Linked DNA regions of Homo sapiens: regions 1, 2, 3, 4, 5 and 6 are each linked to region 7. The links are contacts of gene promoters, found by promoter capture Hi-C in blood cells and fetal thymus (Javierre and others, 2016). All regions are on one chromosome and are shown on one strand. Each heading gives the region's core, a stretch centred on a gene start or on the middle of the fragment in contact. The rest is flanking DNA. Distances are from core to core; before and after follow the strand shown.

The links. The method cuts DNA at HindIII sites, captures the fragments that hold promoters and counts their contacts. A CHiCAGO score of 5 or more calls a contact.
Region 1: a fragment that was not itself captured here is called in contact with the fragment with the promoter of DUSP22 in region 7 in 3 of 17 cell types (total CD8 T cells, naive CD8 T cells and activated CD4 T cells); the score reaches 8.0 in total CD8 T cells.
Region 2: a contact is called between a fragment that was not itself captured here and the fragment with the promoter of DUSP22 in region 7, in 1 of 17 cell types (total B cells). The highest score is 5.4, in total B cells.
Region 3: a contact is called between a fragment that was not itself captured here and the fragment with the promoter of DUSP22 in region 7, in 1 of 17 cell types (total CD8 T cells). The highest score is 5.7, in total CD8 T cells.
Region 4: a contact is called between a fragment that was not itself captured here and the fragment with the promoter of DUSP22 in region 7, in 5 of 17 cell types (activated CD4 T cells, total CD8 T cells, non-activated CD4 T cells and 2 more). The highest score is 8.8, in activated CD4 T cells.
Region 5: a fragment that was not itself captured here is called in contact with the fragment with the promoter of DUSP22 in region 7 in 3 of 17 cell types (total B cells, naive B cells and activated CD4 T cells); the score reaches 6.5 in total B cells.
Region 6: a fragment that was not itself captured here is called in contact with the fragment with the promoter of DUSP22 in region 7 in 3 of 17 cell types (activated CD4 T cells, naive CD8 T cells and non-activated CD4 T cells); the score reaches 6.8 in activated CD4 T cells.

Annotation. Positions count from the first base shown.
Region 1 is chr6:503,469-507,301 of GRCh38, forward strand. The region is part of intron 23 of EXOC2 (exocyst complex component 2); the gene reads right to left. Among named protein-coding and RNA genes, the nearest start is that of IRF4, 110 kb to the left of the region's middle. The HindIII fragment of the contact is 4,850 bases long and covers 1-3,833 here.
Region 2 is chr6:480,307-484,270 of GRCh38, forward strand. No RefSeq gene overlaps it. Among named protein-coding and RNA genes, the nearest start is that of IRF4, 91 kb to the left of the region's middle. The HindIII fragment of the contact is 1,573 bases long and covers 1,573-3,145 here.
Region 3 is chr6:461,793-466,032 of GRCh38, forward strand. No RefSeq gene overlaps it. Among named protein-coding and RNA genes, the nearest start is that of IRF4, 72 kb to the left of the region's middle. The HindIII fragment of the contact is 3,475 bases long and covers 704-4,178 here.
Region 4 is chr6:523,629-527,458 of GRCh38, forward strand. All of the region lies in intron 23 of EXOC2 (exocyst complex component 2), which reads right to left. Among named protein-coding and RNA genes, the nearest start is that of HUS1B, 130 kb to the right of the region's middle. The HindIII fragment of the contact is 1,096 bases long and covers 1,523-2,618 here.
Region 5 is chr6:431,022-434,929 of GRCh38, forward strand. No RefSeq gene overlaps it. Among named protein-coding and RNA genes, the nearest start is that of IRF4, 41 kb to the left of the region's middle. RefSeq lists an enhancer at 3,722-3,908 and a silencer at 3,725-3,889. The HindIII fragment of the contact is 3,213 bases long and covers 697-3,908 here.
Region 6 is chr6:543,460-547,575 of GRCh38, forward strand. The region is part of intron 22 of EXOC2 (exocyst complex component 2); the gene reads right to left. Among named protein-coding and RNA genes, the nearest start is that of HUS1B, 110 kb to the right of the region's middle. The HindIII fragment of the contact is 5,921 bases long and covers 1-4,116 here.
Region 7 is chr6:291,237-295,492 of GRCh38, forward strand. DUSP22 (dual specificity phosphatase 22) reads left to right here and starts at 1,251. Exons shown (of 7, transcript NM_001286555.3): 1 at 1,251-1,324. The coding sequence starts at 1,304. RefSeq lists enhancers at 214-503, 430-930, 931-1,431, 1,724-1,983 and silencers at 614-1,633, 2,378-2,534, 2,414-2,473, 2,484-2,543. The HindIII fragment of the contact is 6,707 bases long and covers 1-4,256 here.

The sequences.
Region 1 (3,833 bases), core at 398-2,897, 210 kb after region 7:
GTATTTATTACGCATTTGCCCTGATGATGTGGTATTTATTTATTACGCATTTGCAAGCCTGTATCAAAATCTCTCTTGTAACTGCTAAGTGTATACACCTACTATGAACCCACAAAAACTAAACATAAAAAAATTTATACTTCAATTTAAAATAATTTGTTATATGTTTGGTTGCTATATTTATTTTGTGAAGTCCTTAAACGGTTAAAGAATAGTACTGGATAGGAACAGAGGAAGGGCAAAGGGCCTAGAGACCAGATAGTGTCCGTGTCTGGGAAACCGGTAAGATCTCTGTGGTCTTCCTCGTTCAGAATTTCGCTTCCTTTCTCTCTTCACTCCGGCCACAGCTGGGTACTGGCCTAGGGAGAGACCAGCCGAGTAGCACGCCCGCACCCTCGCCTTCCTCCTCAGCCTGTCCCGTGGGCTCTTGGGTCCAAGTAAGACTTTTACTCCCATAAAGCACTCACTTCCAATTGCTTGTTTTCTGTTTCAAAATGTTATCCAAAATCTGTCTGTGGGAGGATGTCAGCTCTTTCAAACACCTGTGTCCAAAGAAGCCCGTGCTGGGACAGGTGCTGGGGTGGCCCGGCTCGCTGGCTCCATGCAGCTCTGACGGCCAACACCGTTGGCAAAAGCAGTAGCCACGTGCTTTCCCGACTGGGCAGAGGAAGGTGCTGGCAGCCAGGGTAAAGGCATGCACATGCGAACACTGAGAGGAGGCCCAGACCAGGCAGGGGCTGGGACGGTGACGTACGGTGATGCAGGGCTCGCCTGCGGCCTCGCAGTCTCTTCCTTAAATGGGAGGTCAGACGGAGAAGGTGAGGCAGAGGCCGTCAGAGAGGGGCTCCGTGTGCATCCGTTATGGAAGCGGCTGAGGCCTCGCGGTGATGGCAGAACGATGTGTGGGATGAGTTTCAAAGGACCTCAGTTGTGGCTCCTGGCGGCAGGACCAGAATCTGATTTTTGGTGACAGAACCTTTTTCAAAGGGCCAGTGACGGTGACAGAGGGGCCATGCTGCAATTATTTTTGGTGGCATATGTCCTCCTCCCATTGAATTTCATTCCAATGTCACTATCAGTAACGTTAGTGCTTGATAATTCCTTTTAAGTTTATTGAGGTGACAGAAAGAACACTTGAGATGGAATTTCCTGGCTAACCCTACACCAATCGTATGACCTTCCACAACTCAGCTTATCTTTCAGACAACTGCCTACTCTGCGAAACAGACAGATCACGAGACCCATTTTGCTAACGAAGCTGTTATGAAAATGCCACGTGTGTGCAATTCCCCCATTCTTCCAACACGTGCTGTGTATCTATCATGTGCTGGGCATCAACAGGTGGTGATATAAGAAAGTGGGCAAAACAGACAGGACCCCCCACCCTAAGAGAGCTTACAGGTCAGTGGGGAGGAGCATCTTGCCAATTCTAAAGTAGTACACATATTTCAGGTGTTAATTTAAAATTAAAGACATAACAGTTGACTAAAAAGCATAATGACTAGAAACAGCACACTGATTTCTCTTTCTGAAATGCAAGGTATTAAGTTTGGACAATGGTCCTGCCATGACTGTCTAGCTGCTGCAGATCCTGGCTGTACATTAATTCTTTTGAGTGGTACAAGGAATGGCTAACAGTTGAGTTTGCATATAGGAACACAACAACGGCAGAAAAAAAAAACACGAATACAACATGAAATATGGCTGTGATGTGCTAGAACTGGAAACGTTTGTCCTTGACAGTACTCCTCATTTTGCTGGTTTCATACATAGTCCTTGGAAGTTAGAATTTCCGTTCAACTCTCACCATACTTTGCACTGGTGTTGAGAATGGCTCAATGTCAAATGCCGGTGATGGCTGGGGAAGACTTTGCTTCTGTGGCGACATCTGAGCCGTGGCCTGAGCGAAGAGGATCGGGGGACACAGACAGAATTAGACTGGGCCTCAGACACTCATTACTGAGTAGTCACCTGGGGGCAAGTTTCTGGACTGCTCTGACTTGTAGCTTTCTCCTTTGTAAAACAGAGACAACATTTAAGTGGAATAACGTTTTTAAGAGGCTAGGGAGGCATCCGCCAGACAGCAGGCAGCCAACAAGCGGGAGGTGTTAGGACGGCCCCGCCCCACCCCACTCTGCATTCCCAGGTGCTGCCTGGATCCACCGTTGTCCTCCTGGGCACTGTGTCCCCGGTCCCACTGGGGCAGCTCTGCAGTCCTTTGTGTGATCACTCAGTGAACAACTGTCTCTCCTATTGGACCGTACACTCCACAGCACAGGGATCATCTGCCATTCTCCTTCTCATCATAGCCTCAGCTCCCATCACAGAGGTTGGCACACAGATGGCACAAGATGTTCAAAAATATCCGTGAATGACAAACAAAGGAAGGCAAAGACCATGTCTGTCTTGCTCACTACTAAGTTCTGAAGACTTATGCAGTTGATAAGTGAATGAATGAGGGAATAAACACATCAGAGAAAAACCTAAATATATGTAGAATTCTATAATGCTCAAGTCAGAATATATCTGCGTCATCTACTAAAAGTAAGTGCCTCGGCATACATGGAAAGAAGGTATTCCTTGGGAAAGCATACAATCTCTCGCTTCTCACAAAGACAGTCCTTTTGAGCATCAGGATCCATTTGAAAAATATAGTTTGAATAAAGTAAGTACAGTAGTATAGAATATTGCTGAGGCTTAATCTATTTGCTTTCCAAAATATGCTTTATTTTTCCAGCAATATACTGAAATAATGTCATTAGGTATTTGCTGAATGCTCCGCACGTGCTGGATATTAGGAAGATGTCCAGGTATATCAGGATGGAGTGAACACGTAAGTGTGCAGGGAAACCTAAGTTTCAGTTTGTGCTCCAACAACAGTGGGCCATACAATGCCAAATGTATGGTGCACACAGTATTAGGGAGGGATCATCAGTGTGGACAGTGTGCCAAGAAAAATACAAGGCAAACGGATTTGCTCCTTGGAGTTAAAGGCTACATTATTATGCTGCAGTAATAAGTACTGTTTTTAAAAAGGTTCCCCTTCAATAAACCCCCACAACTTTCCATGTTGTTCAAGCGAGGGAATGAGAAACAGTTTCTAAGCATTTACAACATGTATCTCCTCCACTGTCTGAATATGAAATTAGAATGTGTCATGATATTTGACAAAAAGTGTCCCCACCCACACAGTATCAACCTAGACTACTACCACTTAGCAATTAATCTAGTAGCCCCGTGTGGAAATTCCCCATGGAGAAAACAAGGCTCATCTCTACTGAGCAAGAACTTGTAGGCTGTTTCCTGTAAGCCAGCCGGTGTAACCCAGCATATTCTCCAGCAACGAAGATCTTGTTTTCATGCATCAAAATAGTAGAGCAGCCTTCTTTCTTGGTATATTTGTCAGTTTCCTCTTTTAATCATATAGGAAGGTCACTTGATTTTGGAACAGGCAAACTGGCACACTATTAAAAATACTTCCTGAGTGTCCATTATTATTACATGCAGGACACTTTTCCAGGGGCTGGGGATATAGCAGGGACTACACACACACACACAGCAGTGACCACACACACACACACACAGAGCAGTGATCCCACACACACACACACAGCAGTGACTACATACACACACACACACAGCAGTGACTACACACATACACACACACATACACACACACACACAAGAAGTGACCCCCCCACCCACACACACAGCAGTGACCCCCCCCACACACACACACAGCAGTGACCACACACACACACACACACAGCAGTGACCCCCCCACACACACACAGCAGTGACTACACACACACACACAGCAGTGACTACACACA
Region 2 (3,964 bases), core at 1,109-3,608, 190 kb after region 7:
TATACTTTTCTTACTGGCTTTTTAGCTATACGCCTCTACATTATTGTTTCAGTGATTGTTCTGGGGACTACAACATATATCCTTAACTTTTCACAGTCCCTTTACATGTAATATATTACCACTTCATGTGAAATGTAGAAATCTTGCACCAATATAGGTCCATTCCCCCCCCCCTTATTTTACATCTATATAGGCTATAAACCCACAGGACAATGCTATACTACTTTATAAACAGTCATATATAAGTACCTCACGCTAACTGATTGTGCCGCTGGAGCTCGCAGTCATATATTATAAAACCTTTAAGAAGAAAAAGCAAAAAGAAAGAATTCTGTATTTACCGAGCTGTTTACCATCTCTAATGCTCTTCATTGCTTTGTGAGGATATGCACTTCCATCAGATACCATTTCCTTTCCGTTTGAAGAACTTCGTTTAACATTTCTTATAGTGCACGTCTGCTGACAACAAATTGTCTTAGTTTTCTTTTATCTAGAAATGTCTTTAGCTGTGAAAGAGTATCTTCACTTAGAAGTGAAGAACTCTGGATTGACAGCTTTTTTCTTCTATCACTTTAAAGATGCCTATTTCACTCTCTCTGGCCTCCATAATTTCTGATGTTAAGCCAGAAGTTGAGTCCAATGTTCTTCTCCTGTATGTAGCAGGTAGTTGTTCAACTGCTGCTGACTAGATCTGTTTTTTAGCTTTGGCTTTAACAGTTTATGGCAGTGTGGCATTTTTTGTCTTTATCTTTTTTGCTGTTTGTTGAGCATTATGAATCTGTAAATTTGTATCTGCCATAAATTTGGGAAATTGCCAGCCATTATTTCTTCAAATATTTTTTCCTGCCTGATTCTCTCTTTGCTTGCCTTCTAGGACCACAATTATCCATGTGTTAAGACCATTTGATTATATTGAACAGGTCTCTAGAAAACTTGCCCAAACATTTCCCTCTCTATTCTTCATATTGGATAATATCCACTGATCTATCTTCAAGTTCCTTTATTCTTTCCTCAGTTATCATCACTGTGCTATTTAAGTCCAGTCAGTATTTTTGCTTTATTTCAGAAACTGTATTTTTCGGTTCTAAATTTTTCATTTTAAAAATTGTTTCTATGTCTCTGCTGATATCTCCTATTAAATTGTTGCTAACATATTTTATTTTACTTCATTGCGGATAAAGTGCATTAAAACCTTTGTCTGCTGCCTAATTGCCCTGGCCAGAACTTCCAACACTATGTTGAATAGGAGTGGTGAGAGAGGCCATCCCTGTCTTGTGCCAGTTTTCAAAGGGAATGCTTCCAGTTTTTGCCCATTCAGTATGATATTGGCTGTGGGTTTGTGATAGATAGCTCTTATTATTTTGAGATACGTCCCATCAATACCTAATTTATTGAGAGTTTTTAGCATGAAGGGCTGTTGAATTTTTGTCAAAGGCCTTTTCTGCATCTATTGAGATAATCATGTGGTTTTTGTCTTTGGTTCTATTTATATGCTGTATTACATTTATTGATTTGTGTATATTGAACCAGCTTTGCATCCCAGGGATGAAGCCCACTTGATCATGGTGGATAAGCTTTTTGATGTGCTGCTGGATTCAGTTTGCCAGTATTTTATTGAGGATTTTTGCATCAATGTTCATCAAGGATATTGGTCTAAAATTCTCTTTTTTGGTTGTCTCTGCCAGGCTTTGGTATCAGGATGATGCTGGCCTCATAAAATGAGTTAGGGAGGATTCCCTCTTTTTCTATTGATTGGAATAATTTCAGAAGAAATGGTACCAGCTCCTCCTTGTACCTCTGGTAGAATTCGGCTGTGAATCCATCTGGTCCTGGACTTTTTTTGGTTGGTAAGCTATTAATTATTGCCTCAATTTCAGAGCCTGTTATTGGTCTATTCAGAGAGTCAACTTCTTCCTGGTTTAGTCTTGGGAGGGTGTATGTGTCGAGGAATTTATCCATTTCTTCTAGATTTTCTAGTTTATTTGCGTAGAGGTGTTTGTAGTGTTCTCTGATGGTAGTTTGTATTTCTGTGGGATAGGTGGTGATATCCGCTTTATCATTTTTTATTGCGTCTATTTGATTCTTCTGTCTTACTAGTCTTGCTAGCGGTCTATCGATTTTGTTGATCTTTTCAAAAAACCAGCTCCTGGATTCATTGATTTTTTTGAAGGGTTTTTTGTGTCTATTTCCTTCAGTTCTGCTCTTGATTTTAGTTATTTCTTGCCTTCTGCTAGCTTTTGAATGTGTTTGCTCTTGCTTCTCAGGTTCTTTTAATTGTGACGTTAGGGTGCCAATTTTGGATCTTTCCTGCTTTCTCTTGTGGGCATTTAGTGCTATAAATTTCCCTCTACACACTGCTTTGAATGTGTCCCAGAGATTCTGGTATGTTGTGTCTTTGTTCTTGTTGGTTTGAAAGAACATCTTTATTTCTGCCTTCATTTCGTTATGTACCCAGTAGTCATTCAGGAGCAGGTTGTTCAGTTTCCATGTAGTTGAGCGGTTTTGAGTGAGATTCTTAATCCTGAGTTGTAGTTTGATTGCACTGTGGTCTGAGAGATAGTTTGTTATAATTTCTGTTCTTTTACATTTGCTGAGGAGAGCTTTACTTCCAAGTATGTGGTCAGTTTTGGAATAGGTGTGGTGTGGTGCTGAAAAGAATGTATATTCTGTTGATTTGGGGTGGAGAGTTCTGTAGATGTCTATTAGGTCCACTTGGTGCAGAGCTGAGTTCAATTCCTGGGTATCCTTGTTAACTTTGTCTCGTTGATCTGTCTATTTTCAAGTTCCTTTACTCTTTCCTCAGTTATCCTCACTGCTATTTAAGCCCAGTCAGTATTTTTGCTTTATTTCAGAAATTATATTTTTTGGTTCTAAATTTTTCATTTTAAAAATTGTTTCTATGTCTGCTGATATCTCCTATTAAATTGTTGCTAACGTATTTTATTTTACTTCATTGTGGATAAAGTGGTCTTGGTTCTCAGGGATTTGTGTCTGGCTAGAGGGGTTGTAGGAAGGTGGTACGAGAATCTTTTTTTAACATGTGACGAGATGATAATGATAACAACCATGAAAATATCAACAGTGACCACAAGAAGAAAACCAACGGCTTCCAGTCATGGTAAAACACTGTTGAAGGCACAAGACAAGCTTCACTGCCCACTTTGTCTAGGATTTTCTGTGCCTAGACAGGAGAAAGACACTCTGATATCCTACTGCCTTTCATTAGCCAAACTGCAAACAAGTTACCCAAAGACCCAGGTCTTGTCCGTAAGATGTTTATTGCTATATATTTCTAACCTGGCCAGGTACAGAAAGGCTTTCCAGTAATACACGTAATAAACCTCAATGTAATAAATCCTCCTCTGGGGGAGCAGAAATGAGATGAGATCAGCACACAAAAAGCATAATGGCCCTAGTATAGAGTAATATGCAACTGTGTTTAAAGCAAAGCTAAAATAATTATGGCTGCTGCTCTAATTGAGGAGTGATATATTAAATATATCTTTCAGAGCAGTTCACAGATCTATATGAAAATCTTTGCAACAGAACCAACAGATAAATGTTCAGTGACAAAAATGTATGCAAGTTTAGTCTATGCATAATTATTTTATGAATATTACATAAAATATATTTGACTTTTAGAAACCTAATCTTGATTTAAAAACTAGTTAAAATTTGTAACTTTTCTGAAAACATTACACAACACGCTTATGAAACTAACAGAATATCCCATAGCACGTGATCAAAACAGAAATACACACCACCACCTTGTACCAAATCCAGAATAAAAATATAATCTCTTCTATTTCTTCCCTTTAAAAAAATCTACATGCAAAGATGACAAGAGACAGGAGAATGAGTCAGTGTGCTCAGCCTAAGGCAATGATGCTTGTTTTGCAATGCCCAAATCATTTCTAGAATATGCTCTTTCATGGTACACTGATAAAGAAAGTCTTAGTAAAAA
Region 3 (4,240 bases), core at 1,191-3,690, 170 kb after region 7:
CCACCCGACCCCAACCCATGATAATCACCCTTCTACTTTGTTTCTGAGTTTGACTTTTTAAGATTCCACATGTAAGTGAATATGTGGAATTTATCTTTCTCTTCCTGAGCCTGGCTTATTTCACTTGGCATGACATCCTCAAGGTTCATCCATGTTGTTGCAAATGGTAGAATTTCCTTCTTTTTGTGGCTGAATAGTATTCCATTGTGTAGATACACCACAGTCTCTTTCCTCATTCACCTGTTGATGCACACTTGCACTGTTTCTGTATCTTTGGCTGTTGTGGATAGTGCTGTAGTAAATATGAGAGTGCAGATATCACTTTGAGATAGTAATGTATTTCCTTTGGATAGATAACCAGTAGTGGGATTGTCAGATCACATGGTAGTTCTATTTTTAATTTTTTTAGGAACTTCTATACTGTTCTCCATAATGGCTAAAGCAATTTTCATTCCCACAAACAGTGTACAAGGGTTCCTGAAGAGGAACTTCAAGGCTAACTGGTCCAACCATTTACCCAAATTCTCTAATTGTCTGGCCTGTGTATTCGTATCTCCCAGAGATAATGGGACTCTCCAGCATTCAGGGCAGCCTATTTTATCTCTGGGCAGCTCTGATTGCCAGAAGATCTCTCTCGTGTCAAGTTTCAATTGGTCCTTTCATAATTTTCGCTCGTTAAACCTATCTCTTTCGGCTAAATGTAAGCTTATTACATGTTCTAATGGCAGCTCTTCTAATATTGGAAGACAAATATTACTCACCCATATATTTAAAAAGTTATTGAGTGTCAATGTGCCAGATACTAGAATAGAAACCAGGGAATCAGACATGGAAAAGGCATAGTCTTGCTTTCCTGGATCTCAAAGTCTAGTTGTAAAAGCACGTAACTGCAATGCAATGTGGTAAGAGTAATGGCATACATTTTCAAAGAGCATTTTGGGAACACGAAGAAAAGCATCTATTTGTGGGGACAAAAAAAAAAAGTTAGGAATGGCTGTCTAAGAGAGCTGAAACTTATGGAGAGGTCAAATTGGTCACATAGAGAGGAAGGACATTCCAGGCAATGAATGTTATTAGCAAAGGGTTGGAGGTGTGCATCATGGAAATCACAAAAAATCCAGGTGTGGATTCTGGTACGTAAAGAAAGGAGTGAAAGCTAAAGCAGGCAAGGTGGTCGGGAAGCACATCCTGCAGGGCTGTCTGCTGTATCCCGTATGCAGTAAGAGCATTGGAAAGTCTTGGTGGAGGAGTAGCATAGGGTATGGTATCCAGTATCCAGATATAGAAATACTTACCACACTGTGCTGCGAGGTTGCATTTGGGTCGGAAAAGGGTGGTGGGAGGCAGGGAGGCCAGCTGGTACGTTTTCCTGGTGGCAGATGGCCAGGGCCTGCATTAGCCAGGGCAGTGATGATGAAGTAGTTGCCCATTGGACAGATTCCTCCAGGGTGAAGTTGATGATGGGTGGTGGTTGGCCAGGTGGGAGGCGTGAGGGAGAAGAACACACGGGAACGGCTGGGTTTGTGGATTATGTGCTGGGTGGACAGCAGTGTATCCCCTGACACAGACAGCTCAGGGGAGCCCTGAGTGAGGGGCAGGGAGGTGAAATCCGCTTTGAGCCCAACAACTTTGAGATCCATAAATTACACAGGTGGTGCTTAGCAGGCAGTTGGGCAGATGAATTTCGAGTCTGAGAGAAGAAGGGGTCAAGGGTGTCTTAGTGGCTAATAATTTGAGTGGGTTGGACCCCACCCCACCATACAGGCACAGCGAGTGGGGAGCGTAAGCAGAGTGATTTCTGGGGGAAAGCCTGGTGATTGTTGGAATTTAGGGGCTGTGTGGAAGAAGAGGAGCCTAAGAAGGAGACGGAAAGATGAGGAGGAAGGGCTCAGAGGGAAACAGGAAGGTGTGGTTTCACTGAAGCCACGGGGCCAGAGGAATCTCAGGAAGCAGGAAAGCACGGACTTCACTTCACATTCAAGATGTCAATAGCCTTGCTTGTCAGACTTCTTACTAAAATGCTACCCCTTAAGTAAAGTCTCACCGCACCAGCAGCAAAGGCCTGCAGAGGGAACATAATGCCGGACGCAGGAGGACGCAGTGATGGCCCGGAGGGAGGAGTATGCCGGAGAGATACCAGCTCAGGCTTCCACTTTGTTTTCCAGGCAGAGAAGCGCTGCCACCCTCCCTGGCACCTGTCTCCAGTCCTAGCGCCCAGGCAGGCAGACAGATTTCCCTCCTTCATGGGGGAGTCTGACACCTGCAACCACGTCGCAGCTCTTCCTCCGTCCTTTTCTGCACTTAGGAAAAGGGTATACTCCTAGGAAACAACCATGCAGAAAGGGGATGTGTGGGGGCTGACAGCTGGCAGTGGGGCTTTAACTTCTAGCAATTTTTTCTAAGAAAACAATGAGAGTGAATAGATATGAAGTACTAAGGAGTTCATTCATCACAAGATTGTTCTCCAACAAGGAAAATGGGCAACAATCAACATTCCCAAAGGTAGGCAAGTCCACGCCCTGCAACCCAATGCAGCCACTAAAATGAATGTCTTCATATTTTTAATAAGGCAAGATGATCATATTTTAAAGGTGGTTGCTACATGTTATGTATTATTAATTCGTTAACATCCATTTAATATGTAAGCACAGAAGAGTCCGGAAGGCTAACAGTAAAATGTTAATAGTGGTTGTCTCTAGGTAGTAGGACCATAAATTTTTTTTTTTTTGGCTTACCTTTATTTCAGCATTTTCTTCAACATTTACCAAAACGACTTGGGTTATGAAAAATTATTTGAAGGACTGATCAAAAGGTCCAAAAGCCTCATGAGATAAGATCTGAAACGTGGGTATGACCTGGCAATTTGGAAGCCACTGGTCATCTTAGTGAGGAGACTTTCCTTAGTGAGCCAGAAGGTGGAATACGGGGGATTCCGAAGCCAGTGGTAGGTGGTGACTGAGTGTGGGAGGTGTCTAATCTTTTTTATTTTTATTTTATTTTTTATTTTGTTATTTTTGAGATGGAGTTTTGCTCTTGTTGCCCAGTCTAGAGTGCAGTGGTGCGACCTCAGCTCACTGCAACCTCTGCCTCCCGGGTTCAAGTGATTCTCCTGCCTCAGCCTCCGTAGTAGCTGGGATTACAGGTGTGCACCACCATGCCCAGCTAATTTTTTATATTTTTAGTAGAGACAGGGTTTCACCATGTTGGCCAAGGCTGGTCATGAACTCCTGACCTCAGGAAATCCACCTGCCTTAGCCTCCCAAAGTGCTGGGATTACAGGCATGAGCCACCGCACCTCGCCTCTAATCCTTTTTAAAACAAACTGAGCAGAGAGTGGGCTAAACTCATCAGCGGCTGGGGTGGTCAAGCTGCCCCAATGCTTGTGCACCCCTAAAGCTGGGGTCGGAGGTTGGGAGGTGTCTGAGAATAAAGAAGATGAAGATTCAGCTGTGGCCTGAAGACAGAGGTGAAGGCTGCCATGGACACTGTGGGGGGGGGGGGGGTGGCGGGGCAGGAAGCAGGCAGGGACAGGGTTGGCCTGGACTTAAACATCCAGCTGGAAGCTGATGGGATCCAGGAATCCCAGGCAACATCTCACCAGGAATCCATCCGATGGTACCCATAAACTCGGAGAATTCAGCAATGGTTTAAAAAGGTGGCTGTTTGCAGAGGTGAGAGAAGGTCCTGTGGAAACACAGGACACAGCATGGGGGGAGCTGCAGGCTGCAGAGGTCCTCCCACCCGAGGGCCTGGAGGAGGAAAATCAAGGGCAGACTCCCCTCCAGTGCAGAGGGTGACTGAAAGGACAGGTGGCCTTCCAACCAGTGGCACATCTGCTCCCGCCACCTGCCCCATCCTCTTTCTCCTTTCTCCTGCCAGGTTCCTGTCGTTCACAGGCATCCAGGAGCCAGAATGCTGGGTGCTGGTTTGCCAAGGCAGAGGTCAGAGCAGGGACGCCTCGGGGCACAGATGGAACATCCAGCTCCCGGAGCCCGGTTTAGGATTGGGGACTGAAAACCGGGGCTGGTGATCTGGTATTGATGAGACCCAGGAATTTTGATCTTATATTGCTTGGTGAGTCTTCAAAGACATTCGAAAGGCAAGGACTAGGGTAGAAAACATGACAGTAACCTGTGGACATCTACGTCTCGTATCCTCTGAAGGAAGGAAATGAGGCAAGCTTGGCAGTTTATGGTAGAAGAGAGAGGAGGGTTTCTGTGTTATGAACTGCACGAGTTGG
Region 4 (3,830 bases), core at 821-3,320, 230 kb after region 7:
GCAATGAATGTATGGTTTATTTTGGCAGGTGCCAAAGTATAATCAGTTCTTTTAAAAAAATTGTTTGTTTTTTGAGACAGGGTCTCTCCCTGTTGCCCAGGCTGGAGTGCAGTGGTGCAATCATAGCTCACTATAACCCTGAAGCCCTGGCCTCAAATGACCTTATTGGTGATATCACTAACTCATATGATTAAAATGCAGCTTTCTAAATTCCTCTTAAAAATGTACAATGGGGAATGGAAAACTACCTCTATTTTCCGCTGAATTGATAACGTGAATACAATGTTATTATTTGAAGGTGATGTTTGGGGTAGTATGAAGGTGTGGGTGGGGTGCAGAGCTGAACTAAGACATTACAATATATCTAGATGCTTCCACCAAAACTGAAAAAGCCGCAAAGGGAGGAGAACTTGAAGTTTGATTATGTTAAACAGAGGGGGTAGCTCTGCTTATGGATTTATTTTTTTATTGATAGAAAAGTAAGAGCAATATATGCTGAGTGGAAAGAAAAATGTCTTATAATCCTTATTCGGTCATTCATTAGGACATTTACGTATGGGGAAGAACCACCAGACTCGGCAATGACTGTAATTACGTAGAGGTGTCATCTTGTGAAGAGGTCAGCATGGCTCCTGCCTCTGGTCGTCCCATGACTACCAAACACCACGGCACATCTGTATCTATGTAAGAAACCTGCACGCTCTGCACATGTGTCCCAGAACTTAAAGGAAAATGAAATAAAATAAAAATAAATAAAACAAAAATTTCAAACATTAAAAAAAAGAAGCCCTACTTAGTCATAATGAATTAGTGTTCCACTGCATGGACAATAGTGCTTTGATCTGCTAAAAATAATTGTTACAATTTTTTGTTCCAACGTTCATGAGGGACGCTAGTCTGTAATTTTCTCTCCTTGTAATGTTCTTGTCACATTTTTGATTTGGGGTTATGCAGGTTTCATAAAATAAGATTGAATATGCTTCCTATTATATTTTCTGATAAAGTTTGTATAAAATTGGTATTATTTATTCCTTAAATGTTACATAGAACTTATCAGTAAAACCATTTGGACTTGGAATTTTCCACAAAGAAAGGTCTTTGATTGTGAATTCAACTTAATAAATATAGAAATTTTTCTATATTTAATCATCTTTTAAAAAATCAAAAGTCAAAACCCAAAAAGTTTGTCTTTTCTATTTTCCCACATATCAACCATTTCTGATTCTTTTTATTCCTTCCTTTAGATTCAAGTTTCCATCGAGTGTTTCTTTGGCTGCATCCCTCTGTGCCTTCTGCAGGAGTGCTGGGCACCTGCTGCAGTCGTGGATGGCCCTCAGATCTGGCTGGTGCAAGCTCCCCTCCTGCAAGGGTTCAAGCGCCCCCTCCAGTCTGTCGGCTTTTGACGGCTCTCCAGTGCTTCTCACAGCTGGGTTTCTATATTCTGTGCAGAGTTCAATTTTTAACTGTGGAACGGTTAGTCTGATAAGTTCTTCCTCTATTACTGAAACCAAAATTCCTCTGAAGCTTGCACTTTTTATTCTGTGGTAGTTCTAATTAAGAAAGCATGCTACATTTTATCATTAATTTTAGGATAGTTCCATCACAGGCTTACATAAAGGCATTGTAAAAACTTTCTAAGTGTAAGATAGTGCTACTACTAAGCTAACTTTACTAGGTTTTTCTTCACAAATTTACCCAAAGTGGAATTTATTCCATTTTCAAATGTCTAATAAAATGTTGAACATTGTTCAATGAGTGTTCTTGCAATGACTAGAGGCTTTCCTCTAGACTGACATGAAGACATGATGGCAATAAGTCAGCAACTAGGACTCCTGAAAATATCAGGAAAAACTGTCAAATGACTTGCAGAAACCTAAATTCACCATGTATGCCATTTCTCTATCAAATCAAGTGTGTGTCCAAGAAGAAAACAAGTTAGTACTGCATGTGCCTGTTCTTTGTGGGTATGCTGTCTCCATGAAGTTTTTCATTTCTTTAAAATATAGAAATTTCTTTTTTTAAAATAAAAATACATCTATTCTGCCCCAATATTTTTAAAAACAAAATTTTAAAGTAGAAAATTAAAGTTTTCTAGCATGCTCCTTCTTATCCCCTTTCAAGATATGTGTATACATGTCAAATTGTACATATGAAATAGATACATTGTCTTTTTCAATAAAAATGAGGAAAGAATGAATGCATGTCTCCTTAATCAACATTTTCTACCAATATATGTACAGTCCCCCACATATAGGTATGCATTTACTTATCCATCTATCCATCTCATCCATTATAAAGAAAGTATAATATTTGTTTAGATATATAACAAATTATCTAACCAATTCACTACTGATGGGCATTTAGTTTTTCAGATTCTACATATATTAAAAAATGTTTCAATAAACATCACTGTACATAATTCTTTACTTACTTCTGTAAAACTTTCCTTAAGACAAATTCTTAGACACAAAATTTCTAAGTAAATTCTATACATATAAATGTGTGCATACACACACACGCACACACACGTATGTGTATAGATGGGCCAATTTACACTCCTAGAAAGATGACGGAATAGTTTTTTTCTCTGTACCTTTGCCAAAAAGCAGGTATTATCAAGCTTTACAGTATCTGTCAATCCAGAGGGTTTTAATAAAATGATACCCTAATGGTATTTTAAATTACATTCTTTGAGAATTGATGAATTTTATCCTATTCTTATATTTATTGGCCATATTAGTTATTTTGTGAATTTCATGAACTTGTGTCTATTCTACCAGCACATCTGCCTTTTTCTTTGTGGATTTTTTTTTTTTTTTTTTTTTTTTTGAGACAGAGTTTCGCTCTTGTTGCCCAGGCTGGAGTGCAATGGCGTAATCTCGGCTCACGGCAACCTCTGCCTCCTGGGTTCAAGCGATTCTCCTGCCTCAACCTTCCGAGTAGCTGGGATGACAGGAATGCACCACCGTGCCCGGTTAATTTTATATTTTTAGTAGAGATGGGGTTTCTCCATTTTGGTCAGGCTGGTCTTGAACTCCCGACCTCAGGTGATCCGCCCGCCTCAGCCTCCCAAAATGCCGGGATTACAGGAGTGAGCCACCGCGCCCGGCTCTTCGTGGATTTCTAATGGAGGCTGTTTATTGTCTAGCAACACAGCACAATGCCTAAAATTAAGGGCTGCCTGGATTTGAACTCGGAACCCCTACCTCACCATTTCCTAGCTACATGAACTTGAGCAAGTCACTTAACTTCTTTGTGCTCAGTGGCTTCATCTATAAAATGAGAATAAAAATACTGCTTACTCCTTGAGGTGCTGTTATATAGATTAAATCAGGTGATTTATGCAAAGCCCTCTGCCTTGCACATGGTATATATGCAATAAATGCTGACTACGTTACTAAACATGGGTACCTAGTAATGTGTGTATATAAATGCATGTATAAGGAATATATGTATAAATTCACATATACATGTAACATACAACTTATTTTATAAGGACCTGAAAACATTTTAATGGTCCATTTTCTCAGAGAGCTACATTAAACTTTGAGGTCTGTCTGCAGTTTTCCATTTTTTGAAAATCAAACAAAAATTACAATTTCTCCTTATCTCCATTCTTGTAGCATTTTTCTTATTCTCTAGAAATTCTACGCTGGACCTGAGCTTTGAATGATTTAAGTTACAGGATGCAAGAGATAACCTAATTGTGCAATGTCTCTTGTAAAATTCAGTGAAAACATCTGCAAGATACATTCCAAAAGGCAGAGATCTTAAAATAAAATTCAACAAACATAGACTTGAGAAGAGCTGTGCTTCTGCCTCTGTCTCCA
Region 5 (3,908 bases), core at 1,053-3,552, 140 kb after region 7:
AGCTTGATGTTTAAAAAGACATGGTTCCTGGTGGTGAGGGAGACAGCATTTGGGAACTCCCTGTACTTTCTGCATAATTTTTCTGTGCGCCTAAAACTATTCTGAAAAATAGAGCCTATATATATTTTGAAAAGATGTGGTCCATCATTAGCCTGACTGTACCTTTGTACAAATTAGACAGAGGCACCTCTTTCTGAAACCAATTTTATTGCCAACAATCAGAAAGTTGTGCTAATAAATGTATATGTATTACATATATGTATATATTTATAAATACACATACAGCGACCACAATGTGAATGATGCTTCGGAATTGTGCAGCATAAAACCTTCACAACAGTGCACAGCAACCCTCTTTACCATCAGTCAACTGGAGGAAGCAGACACACAGTCTAACTGCTAGACTAACAGGCAGGATGAAACAGGTCCAATAACAGTGGGAAAAATGAGAAGGCAGAGGATAAAGAAGGAAATCAGCCCGGGAAGAAAAGTATATGGAAGAGGTGAAGAAAGAAAGGGGGGACTGAGGCGAATGGGGTGAAAGGCAGTGGTGGGTGTCACACTCCCGCTCTGCCACGTTTTGTTATTACTGCTTCCTGTGCACTGAGTATCTGTCGATGTACTCCTGGGCATGTCTCTGAGGACTGGGGATGCCCCTGGAGCCATGTGGTCTTGTGAAAGTAAGACATTGAGTTAAGCTTTCTAGCTCTGCTGGGACAACATTAGACCAAGAAATGGGTCTCTGCTCCGGTAGACGCATCACCACCATCTGAAACAGCTTTAAAACATGCTCTGCTCCCATAGAGAGAGAATGTCGTTGGCCCGCCAGCACGAGGGCTCCGGCAGGTTTGTTTCCCAGTGGTAGGAGACCCTTAGTTCATTCATGCCACCTCTTTTCCTAGATACTCATGGAAATATGTGCTTTGAGGATGGCTGACACCTGCTTGGTATCCACTGGTTTCAATGCCATGGCATTGGCCTTCTTACCCCTTTCACTAGACAAATAAGCTAAACTAGCCTCAGACCCACGCAGAGCTGCCACCTCTGTTCATTTCCCTGTGAGTCATCCTTAATGAGCTACAAAAACGCATGACCCAGGCAGCCATGCAGAAGCCAACACTAGAAATGCATGTCCTTCCCGCAGGGTGGTGCGGTGGGGGAAAGGAGAGTTCCGAATAAGCGCCTGCCTTTAACTTCCTGAAGTCAGGGTCAAATCCAGCAGCCACCTCAAACCACACCTTCACAGGAACAGTCATAGCTTTGCAAAGAACTGAGAAGAGACAGTTGTATGTGACCACATCCAGCAGAGGTTACACTCACATCCCAACCAACCCTGTAAAAAGACCACAGGAGAAAAGTCAGAGCGCCACACAACAGAACCAATGCAGCCTTGGCCAACTCATGGAGCATATCAGGAGATGTGGGCTTGGAGAGCCACATCTTTTTTCAATGTATATATAATTTCAACTTTTGCTTTAGAGCCAGGGGGTGCATGTGCAGGTTTGTTACATGGGTATATTGCCTGATGCTGAGGTTTGGGATACGTTGGATCCCATCACCCAGGTACTGAACATTTCACCCAATAAGTAGTTTTCAACCCTTACCCCACTCTCTCCCCGACCTAGTAGCCCCCAGTGTCTACTACTGCCAAAACAGTCAGATGTTGAAGATGGGTAGGAATCTCCATTTCCATTGTGCTTTTCCAGAAATATTCTATGTTCATGCTGCCTCTCAAGCTATATTGTTTGTGGTGACCGACATAAGTAACAAATAATCAAGAGCATCCATGGGAATGCTGCACACCAACAGCCAGACAAAGACTCCCTCCTCCAGACATCAGTGGTGAGTGGGCGGAGGAGAACCTGTTACATCTGCATGTTTGAATATTTCGTGAGCAAATAAACCTCCACCTAGGAAGATATGTGGATGGCAGATAGGCGCATGGAAGGCTGTTAAATGTCATTCATCATTTCAGAAATTCAAATTCAGTTACAAGGGGCTCTGCAGTCCTATTAGAATGGCTAAAACGGGAATGAAAACATCTGGCAATACCCAGTGTTGAAGAGGACACGGAACAACCAAAACTCTCATACGCGTTGCTGGCGAAAGTGAAAAATGGTAAACCAGTTTGGGAAACAGTTTGGTGGTTTCTTATTCAGTTAAACATATGCTTACCATCTGACCAAAAGATTCTGCTACTAGGCATCCCTTAACCAAGAAAGATGAAATCTTATCTTCACATAAGCATGAATTAATTTTCAATGCATTTAAGTGGAAGAAGCCAGACCCAACAAACTACCTACTGTAGGTTTCACTTATACGACATTCTGGAAAAGGCAAAAAATAGTAAGAACAGAGGAGAGATCAGGGAATACCAGGGGCTGAGGGTGGGAGGAGTCTGCCCCAGGGCAGCATGAGGAGGGACCCAACTGTTCAGCGCCATGCTTATGGTAGTGCTTATGGTAGTGCTTACCCAATTTGATGCACTGCACACCAGAAAGAGTGAATTTGGCCAGGTGCGGTAGCTCACGCCTGTAATCCCAGCACTTTGGGAGGCCAAGGTGGGCAGATCACCTGAGGTCGGGAGTTTGAGACCAGCCTAGCCAACCTGGTGAGACCCTGTCTCTACTAAAAAAAAAAAAAAAATACAAAACTTAGCCAGGCATGGTGGTACATGCCTATAGTCCCAGCTACTCAGAAGGCTGAGGCATGAGAATCGCTTGAACCCAAGAGGTGGAGGCTGCAGTGAGCTGAGATCACACCCCTGCACTCCAGCCTGGGCAGCAGAGCAAGACCGTTTGAAAAAATAAATAAATAAATAAAAAATAAATTTTACTGCACCTTTCTTTTTAAAAACAAAAAAAATAAAAACCCTACGTCAAAAGTAGGCATTTTAGTAGCTTCGGATCTGAGAAAAGTTGTTTTCCCACTGAGGAATGCCATAGTATTCTGTTTTTCAAGTACATAACGTTCCTAGAAGAGCCAAAATTAAACTTAAAAAAGAAAAACAAAAGAAAAAAAGAAGCTGATGTAATTGACAACTTTTATAGTCTCCTCGTTTCATTCAGGTCAGTAAAGGATCAGCAAAGAGAAGCAAACATTCAGCATGCCATGGCTGGGACCCTAAGCACCACACAGGCCAGGCTAGAAAGTGCCTCCTAGACCCAGCATGCTTTTGCTCACAGATGCGTAAGCTAAGGGCGTGTGAGCCGCAAAGTCGGGCCTGGGCTTCAGCCCTGCTACTGCGACTCTGCCGGGACAAAGGGAGGCACTGATCCCCACAGGCCATCCCAGACACTGATACATTTTTGACTTGCCAGCATCTTCGCTACCTTCTCTTTCATTTTCCTATAATCCCGTTTCCTTTCACAGCATGTTCCCTAGGTGAGGAACAGCAAGTACCTGTAGGTCTGGAACGAGGGCCCAGGGCCACGAAAACCAGCCATGGGATGGAACAGGAGGGAGAGAGGAGGGGATGGACATGGCTTCTGTGTCTGGGACCACACGCTTCATGTTTTTTCTTCCCTTGGCATTTCTGTCTTGGCACAAGGGAAGTTTCAAAACAGCAGGAGCGAAGTGTTTTCCAGCTATGGCCAGGCACCCCCAGCACTGAACACAAGAATGCTAAACAAAGTCCTATGGTCATTTTCCTTAGGCCCTCCCGCCCCCAGGCTTTCTCAGAGATTGTGGAACAATGGAGCCCATGATTTTAGGATGCAGCTCAGTCCCTGGAGGCACACAGGCATCCTCCCTCCACCTGTGTGTCCAGAATTGGCGGGTTCCTGGTTATCACTGACTTCTAGAACGAAACCACAAACCCTCGCGAGGAGTGTCACAGTTCTTAAAAGTGATGTTCCTGTTTCCAGTTTCTTTCTTCTGGTGAGTTCAGTTTCGCCGGCTCAAGAATG
Region 6 (4,116 bases), core at 1,353-3,852, 250 kb after region 7:
CAGAGTGAGGCCAGGAAAGGGGAGGTGTTGATCAAAGGGCATGGCATGGTAACCACAGTTAATAATAATGTATTGTGTATTTCAAAAGTGTTAAAAGATTTTTAATGTCCTCAACAAAGGTAAGTTGGTGAGGTGATGAATATGTTAATTAGTTCGACTGACTTTTCTATAATGTATGCTTAGGTTGAACATCACATTGTGCACCATAAATATGCATAATTATTATTTGTCAATTAAAAATGAATAAATAAAACAGAAAAAAAGGAGCCATTCCCAAGCTGTGGCTCAGTGATCCACAGTGGCTACTGACTAAGTCAGGGAACACATAAAAGAGAAGCTGTTTTGAAGGAGGAAGATGACTGGTTAGGCCAGGTTGCTTTGAAATCTCGATGGAAACTTCCAGGGAGGACGTCTGGTAGGAAACAGATCGAAGGTATCAGAATGACATGCAGGTCAAAAATAAAGAATCTGGGAATCATGGGCATCCGTCAGTGATGGGTGAAGCTGTGGAGGCAGATGAGGTCGTCTACAGAAACTGCTGAGTATGAAGAGGAAGCAGACAAATCAAATGCTCAGAGAACAGAAATACAGGGGATGGTACCACAATTATCTACATTTTGTTGGCTTGGGTTCAAAGTTTTTGGCTTAGGAATGCCACACCCTACCCAACTGGAGAACCAGCTGTTTTACTCCTTATTTCCTGCACTTCCCAGCTTTCCAAAGAGATGTGGTGCCTTTCCTCCGCTCTCTGAAACAGCATCTGGAATGTGAAATCTTATGTTCTTTCTTGCTTTGTGAAACCTTTTCTCAGGTACTTTCTGTATTGGGGAGGTAGCACTTTGTAAATGACAAGGTCTCTGAGTCCTTCTGATGGGGTATCTCTCTAAGTATGTATGTTTATTCTTTCCCTTCCTGTTTGAACAAGAAACTCAAGGCAGCCAAATAGGGTCAAAAATTAGGATCAGTGTTTTGAAAGCAGAAACACATCTGATCAACTTATAATTTCTGTCTGTAAGATCTTAAACTCTGAAACAGATTAAGTTACAACTTATTTATTATATAAAATAGCCTGTAAACAAAATTTAGCTGATTTTGTTTATACGTATAACACAAGGAAAATGAAACACATATATATAGAGATAATACAGCAGTGAAGACACAAAACTGTACTCACTCACATCTAGGTATTCAAATGGTTTCCAACTTGAAATTTAGTGATATTCAAATAAGCTACAATAATCAAACATGTAAAATACAGTACATGCAGTTAAAGCAACGCAAAACTCTAGAATCAGCTGCTCAGCATAAAGGAACTTCCCTGGACATATAAGAAAAAGGAGCTGCCCCTCCACACCTTTCACGCCGGAGTTTCTCAAAGAGATTTACAGGCTTAAAATAAAACTTCAGGCCGGGCGCGGTGGCTCACGCCTGTAATCCCAGCACTTTGGGAGGCCGAGGCGGGTGGATCATGAGGTCAGGAGATCGAGACCATCCTGGCTAACAAGGTGAAACCCCGTCTCTACTAAAAATACAAAAAATTAGCCGGGCGCAGTGGCGGGTGCCTGTAGTCCCAGCTACTCGGGAGGCTGAGGCAGGAGAATGGCGTGAACCCGGGAAGCGGAGCTTGCAGTGAGCCGAGATTGCGCCACTGCAGTCCGCAGTCCGGCCTGGGCGACAGAGCGAGACTCCGTCTCAAAAAAAAAAAAAAAAAAAAAAAAACTTCAATTAAAAATTTAATGCCAGCCATGTTTAATGTCTACAGGCTTCGTCAGGTGAAAATCTGGAAGTATACAAATTCTGAATTAGATGCTTATTTTTAAAGACTGGGACAGATTAAAAAAGTATTTTATATATGTAAAAGCACTCCCTGGAATTATGTAATTATACCTACCACAATAAAATTATACGCTGAAGTTTATTAACCATACAACTCTGGTTTTCCTTTCTCAAAGGTATGAAAGAATTTGGTTGGTGGCAAATTTGGTTTGCACACTTAAATTGCAACTTATTTGCAACATGTATCTTAACTCTCTAAGAGCCTTCAAAATTAGTTCTTCTAGAATATAAACAGTCAATAACAGAAGAAAAAGCGCTAACCTCCTAAATAGAAAAAGGCATGCAAATTAAAATACAATGAAAGCCTATTTTAACCTATCGAATTAAACATCGTAATTAAAAAGATGACAGAAATGTGATGAGATCAGCTTCCAAAAAGCTATCTGGCAATATTTACCAAGTACCTCTGGGGCTGTGAATCTACTTCAGGATTCTATCGTGAGGAAGTAATTAGACATGTGATCAAAGATTATCTTCACTTCTCAGTAACAACAACAAAAATTAAAAATAACCTTAAGGTTACTAGTATGGGAGAGGTTAAAAATACTACGTATACCCACATTAACAAATGTTATAAAGCCATAAGACACATTTTACAAAAATATTAAATAAAAATGGAAAAGTACTCATGATAGAATATATTCAGTAGAAAAATACAATGTCAAATGAATTCAGAAAAATGTTTCTTTTTTTCTCAAATTCCTTTTCACCATGTTTCATATTTTTATAACATATAGATAGGATATATAAAGTCATGGTTACTATAAATATTAAAATCGTAGTGTCTACCTTTGGTTGGTGCATTATAGATTATTTTAATTTTTATTTTTTTTTAGACTTCCCAATATTTTTTCTTTTTAAGAATAACGGTTGGATCTTACTTTTATAAGTTGAAAAAAAAATGCATGACTGGAAAAAGACATCTCCAGGACTTGAGCAAAAGCTAAATGGTACAGGCAATACTAATGAAAATGCATGCACATGGCAGGACGCTCCCTGTTGGCACATACTTCTGGATTCAGACAGCACCGAGTCCACCAAAGGTTTATAACGGGGCTTATTTTTAAGGAGGAACAATGTAGAAGAAGATGATTTGGATACCCTGATCTCATGAATTATCATTCAATGTGGTTTCATAAAGGCCAAAACAATGTACACTAATCAACCAGCTTCAGGTCCTATTTTCATTTCTTTGGTGTGCAGGTGACCCTTGAACACCACGGGTCTGAACTATGTGGGTCCACTTATACACGCATTTTCTTCTGCCTCCGCCACCCCTGACACAGCAAGACCAACCCCTCCTCTTGCTCTTCCTCAGCCTAGTCCACATGAAGATGAGGAGGATGAAGACCTTCATAATAATTATTCACTTCCACTTTATGAATAGTGTTAATATATTTTGTCTTCCTAATAATTGTCTTAACATTCTCTTTTCTCCAGCTTACTATATTACAGGAATACAGTATGCAATAGATAAACAAAATACATGCTGATAGGCTGTTTTATTCATAAGGCTTCCAGCCAACAGGAGGCTACTAGTAGTTAGGTTTTAGGGTGGTCAAAAGTTACACTTAGATTTTCGACTGCACAGGGGGTTGGCACCCCAACCTCTGAGTTGTTTAAGGGTCAACTGTATTATCATGAGACCAGTTTTATTCTTTAAGATGCATGGTGCTGGACCAGAAAGCATTCCGGATTTAGAATGAGAAAATGTAATTTTGAGTCCTGCCTTGCTGTGCTCTTACAGGTCAAGTCCTTGACCTCTCTGGGTATCTTTCCCTATGAAGATTATGGAGCTGATGATACCATTCCTGATTTCATGCACCAAATAAAAGTGTATGTATAAAATCATTCTAGCTTCAAATGTCACTGATCATTACATTTTAATAATCCCCTAAAAACATTTATTTGTCTCCTGTTCCTATATTAAGACTAATTTATCTCCATGTTTCAAGGTGAGGAACAGGTGAAGGGAATGAAAAACTGGCCGTTTAATGCCTTTCCTGGCGTAAGTACCAGTAAGAAAGCAGGAGGAAATATCCCCGGAGGAAACACTTGGCCTGCCCTGGCTCACACCAGAGGAGTCTGAGAGAAGGTCTCACACCCAGTGACATGAGGTCCCCCTATGAGAGACCCTCATCTTCAAGTGCGGAAACAGAGAGGGAATGAATAAGCCATCCACTGTGACCTGTGCCCTGTGACTCTTCTGGGATCGATGCCCCTAGAATTATTTGTCTTTTGGAGGGAAAACTATGAAAAACAGTGGCAGAGTCAGCAGAC
Region 7 (4,256 bases), core at 1-2,500:
GGCAGGTATGCAGAGAGCTGGGGATCCAGGTGTCTGGATAGAGAGCACAGCCCAGCAAGCCTGACAGGCTCAAGGAACAGACAGGAGACCAGCATGTGTGTAACTCGCTTAGCAAGAAGATAAAATGAAGTCAGCAGGGGTGAGCCAGGGCACGTCAGATTGACGCATGTACTCATTCAGCAAATATTTATTAAGCACCTACTATGTTCAGGACATTGTTGAGGATACATAAATTAAGAAGAAAAACCACTGGCTCAAGGATTCTGTCGCTGGAGAGAAACTTCAGAGTTTAATAACGTTGATAGAACACCCAAAACAATTCTGCTACAGTTTAGAAATTGATCCATTCCAGACAGAACCACAATGCAGACATTAAGGGACACACATCATCTAAGGCCGTGAGGTCTGAGGTCAGAGATCCAGCCATCTGCTCCCCCAGGGTAGGGAGGTCGGGCCTCCCCGGGGTGAGTCACGTAGCCCACCTCTCCCCACCAGGCGAGGCTTCTCGGTCTTGGTGCATGGGGCAGGGCCGCAGGAAATCCCCCAGCCTAAATCTGCCGCACTCAGAAAACCCAGGCAGGGGAGCCCCCAGAGACCAGGCCTCTGATTAGCACCTGATTCACGGAGGCAGCCAAGGCTGGGTAGCGACTGCTGGTAACTGGCCCCCGGAGTCGCCCCAGGGGAAAAGGCCAAAGGGGGATCTGGAGACCCCCGGCCGGGGAGCGGGCTCCGAGACGAGCGCAGCCGCCCGGTCAGGGCAGCGCCTGCGCGTCCGCCAGGCCCCGCCGCGCAGCCTCGGGTGTCCCGGCGGGGCGGCTCGGGCCGCGCACGCGCTCTGGCCTCCGGGGCCGGCCGCCTGGGAGCCCGAGCCTAGTGCCTCCCACGCCCGGCGGCCGCGAGCCGGGGTCCGCGAGGGCGGAGTGGGGCGCGGCAGCCAGGAACCCGACTACGAATCCCAGGGTGCGGGCGGGCGGAGCGAGGAGGGACGCTGGGCCTGCCCGGTGCGCACGGGGGCGGGGACCGGCAAGGCGGGACCATTTCCCGGCATAGGCTCCGGTGCCCCTGCCCGGCTCCCGCCGGGAAGTTCTAGGCCGCCGCACAGAAAGCCCTGCCCTCCACGCCGGGTCTCTGGAGCGCCCTGGGTTGCCCGGCCGGTCCCTGCCGCTGACTTGTTGACACTGCGAGCACTCAGTCCCTCCCGCGCGCCTCCTCCCCGCCCGCCCCGCCGCTCCTCCTCCCTGTAACATGCCATAGTGCGCCTGCGACCACACGGCCGGGGCGCTAGCGTTCGCCTTCAGCCACCATGGGGAATGGGATGAACAAGGTAACGTCTTCCCTCGTTCGCGCTGGGTTTGCCTCCGCTCCGACGCCCTGCCGTCTCGCCGGCGTCGGCTGCCCGACGACTCGAGCCCGGGGTGCCCTTTCCCGCGGTGGGGACGGGCGCGGAGGGAGGGGCGGCGCGCCTGGGCGGCGACCGCGGAGTCGGGGTTCGGAGGTGTTCCCGCCCCCACCCCACCCGGCTTCCGGGTAGGCAGCCCCCAGCCGCCTGCCTTGCCAGCCGGTGCGTTTTCGTGGCTGAAACAAGCCGCGCCCTTTGAAAGCGTTGACACTTGTTCTGCCGAGAGGTCAGCTGAGCTCCGAATGGATGTGGCTTCTTTTTTGCCCTCCTCTTCGCTCCCAAACTACGCTCTTGAAGCCACCACCGCCCCCCCCACATCATTAGTAAACGGGTGTCCTCTGTAATTTCCTCTTTCTCCTCAGATTCTGTGTGTGTGCCTGTGAGCACAGAGAAGTTTTTCTTGTGGACAGAGAAGTTAACAGAGTCCTAAGTCCTGAGCTGTTTCTAGATAGTGGGGAGGAGAGAAAAGATTCAGAGTTGATTAGGTTATGTGACTTCTGCAACAAGGGCAACCTGTTGCTGGCTGCTTGCGCTGATGAGGCCTTCTGGAAAATCTGTGTTGCTCCATTTGTCCCGTCCGTTTCTGGGCCCCACCCTGTGTTCTTTTGTTGCCCGCACCTCACTTCCCGGGCGGTGGGCTAGCCTTTCCCGTCCAGGGAAGTTGCCAGATTCCAGCTCTGGCAGCTGAGAGTTGCCGGGGTGTATTCATGTGAACCACAGGGTTAAGGATTTTGTTACTTGGTACTTGGCTGGTTTCGAGGAAGGATTGACAAGACTTTACAAAGCCCGCAACAAAGACAAGTACCTTTTTACGGGTCTTTGAATGGTCCTGGATTAGATGAGTCGTCTTTCTGCTTCACTTTTTCATTGCGCTCCACCCACCCACATCTCTACATGCCGTCAGCTTCCACACTGGGTGGGGATGGCAATGTGGCTGTGTTTTTTTTCATGTCCCTCAGCACTGGGTCAGCAGTGGTTTGGGTGTTGGGGCTGGAGTGTTGCAAATGCGGATTCACGGTAGGGCAGGGAAAACCTAGCTAACTTTTCACGTGCGCATGTCGTGTTTATTGTGTCCTGGTTACCCAGTTTGTGAAAGAACTATTGTGTGTTTGGGACCTGCATATCAATACTGGGGTATTTTGGTAAAGAGAATTGTATTCACTTTTTTTTTTTTTTTTTTTTTGGCGAGTGATCAAGTTTGGAAACAGACTGTCTCTCTCTTGGATAAATACTTGTATTATATTCCGATGAGCACTGGAATCCATCAGCACCACGAGCCTTCTGCTTTTTAAATTAAAACAGAACAATAAAGATGGTCATCATAAGTCTGTGGGCTCCGTTTGCCTTCCCATTGGTGGTGGTATCTCAGCTTTCCTTTGGCTGTTTCTAGTTTTCCCACTTGAGCTGTTCACTCTCCACCGTTTTCAGCATTTAATTTATAGTATTTGTGTAATACAATTCAAAAAATATATTTAGGAATACAGATGGTTGCCTAAGGGATCAACGTTATTTTCATGCTTTTCAACAAAAGCAGTAATATTCATATACTTTTTACCTTTCAAAATGGGTAATAAATTTCTTGACTTTTATTATCTTGTGAATAGAGACTCACAGTGTATCAATGAAGAAATACATGTATAGAGAGATTTAGAGACTTCCCTGCTTCAACACTTATTGATTATGTACATACTATGAGCCAGGTGTTGTGCTAGTGGGTGGGGAGGGGGCAAAGGGAGTACAGTGGTAAATGACCCAAAGATTCTTCACAGAACCTTCAGTACAGGTCAGCATTGTCCAGCACTAATATGATGCGAGCTATATATGTAACTTAAAATGTTCCGGTAGCCACATTAAAAAATAAACCGGTGAAATTAATTTTAATAATATATTTTATTTAACAATATATTAAAACTATTGTTTCAACATGTAACCAATATATAAAGTTATTCATGGAAGATTCCATGTTTTTTACTATGTCTTTGTGAAAGGAAAAATCTCGGGACCCCCAGATCACTTAACCTTCAAAGTCTAGTGTGTATTTTATGCCTAAATCACATCTCATTTTGGACTAGCCACATTTGGAGTACTCGATAGTCACTGTGGCTAATGGCTGCTGTGTTGCACAACACAGGGTGTGTATGTGTGTGGGGGTGAGAGAGAGAACAAACACAAGGTAGGGAGGAGTAGAGGCTCCAGAGGATAAAATAGGCAATTTCAGAAAAGTGGGGAAAGCAGAAGATGGGATGAAAGTGACCTAGAAGGGGCATTCAGCCCAGGCAAGGAATCCTGCTGCAGTAAACATGTTTAACGTGAGATCAGGAGGAACTACCCCAAATCACAAGGTTCATTAGTGGCAAAGTAGATCGCAGGAGGCCAGTAACTTAAGAACCTTAACTAGAACTTTTCCATATATTACTGTGTGACTTGGAACGAGGCTTCATCTGTAAAAAAAGAAGAATGGTTGATTTGCAGAATCAGCGGAAGGTGCTACCCCTAGAAATCCTTTTCTAAGAACATTTATAAATATGTGCAATGTCTTTGGAACTAACATAACTTGGAATGTGTGTGCCCTGAGGTTACTGGGACAAGATTTCTTTCCAATCTCGTACACATTGGTCATTTTTGGCAAAAGAGCATTTCTGGTCTAAACAGTGCACGCTGCATTCTGAGTGCTTTGGGACAGCAGTTTTTATCATTCACATCCCTGTGGTGGCTCTTCTTGTCGGTCCGTTCCGGGCTCCTGTACGGCGGAATATTGTGCCCGTTTCCGTTAGGTGTACGCAGCAGATTATACAGAAGATGGAGGGGAAAAAGGCTTTTATATTCTAGAAAATTAAAGATGAGGAAATAAAGACAG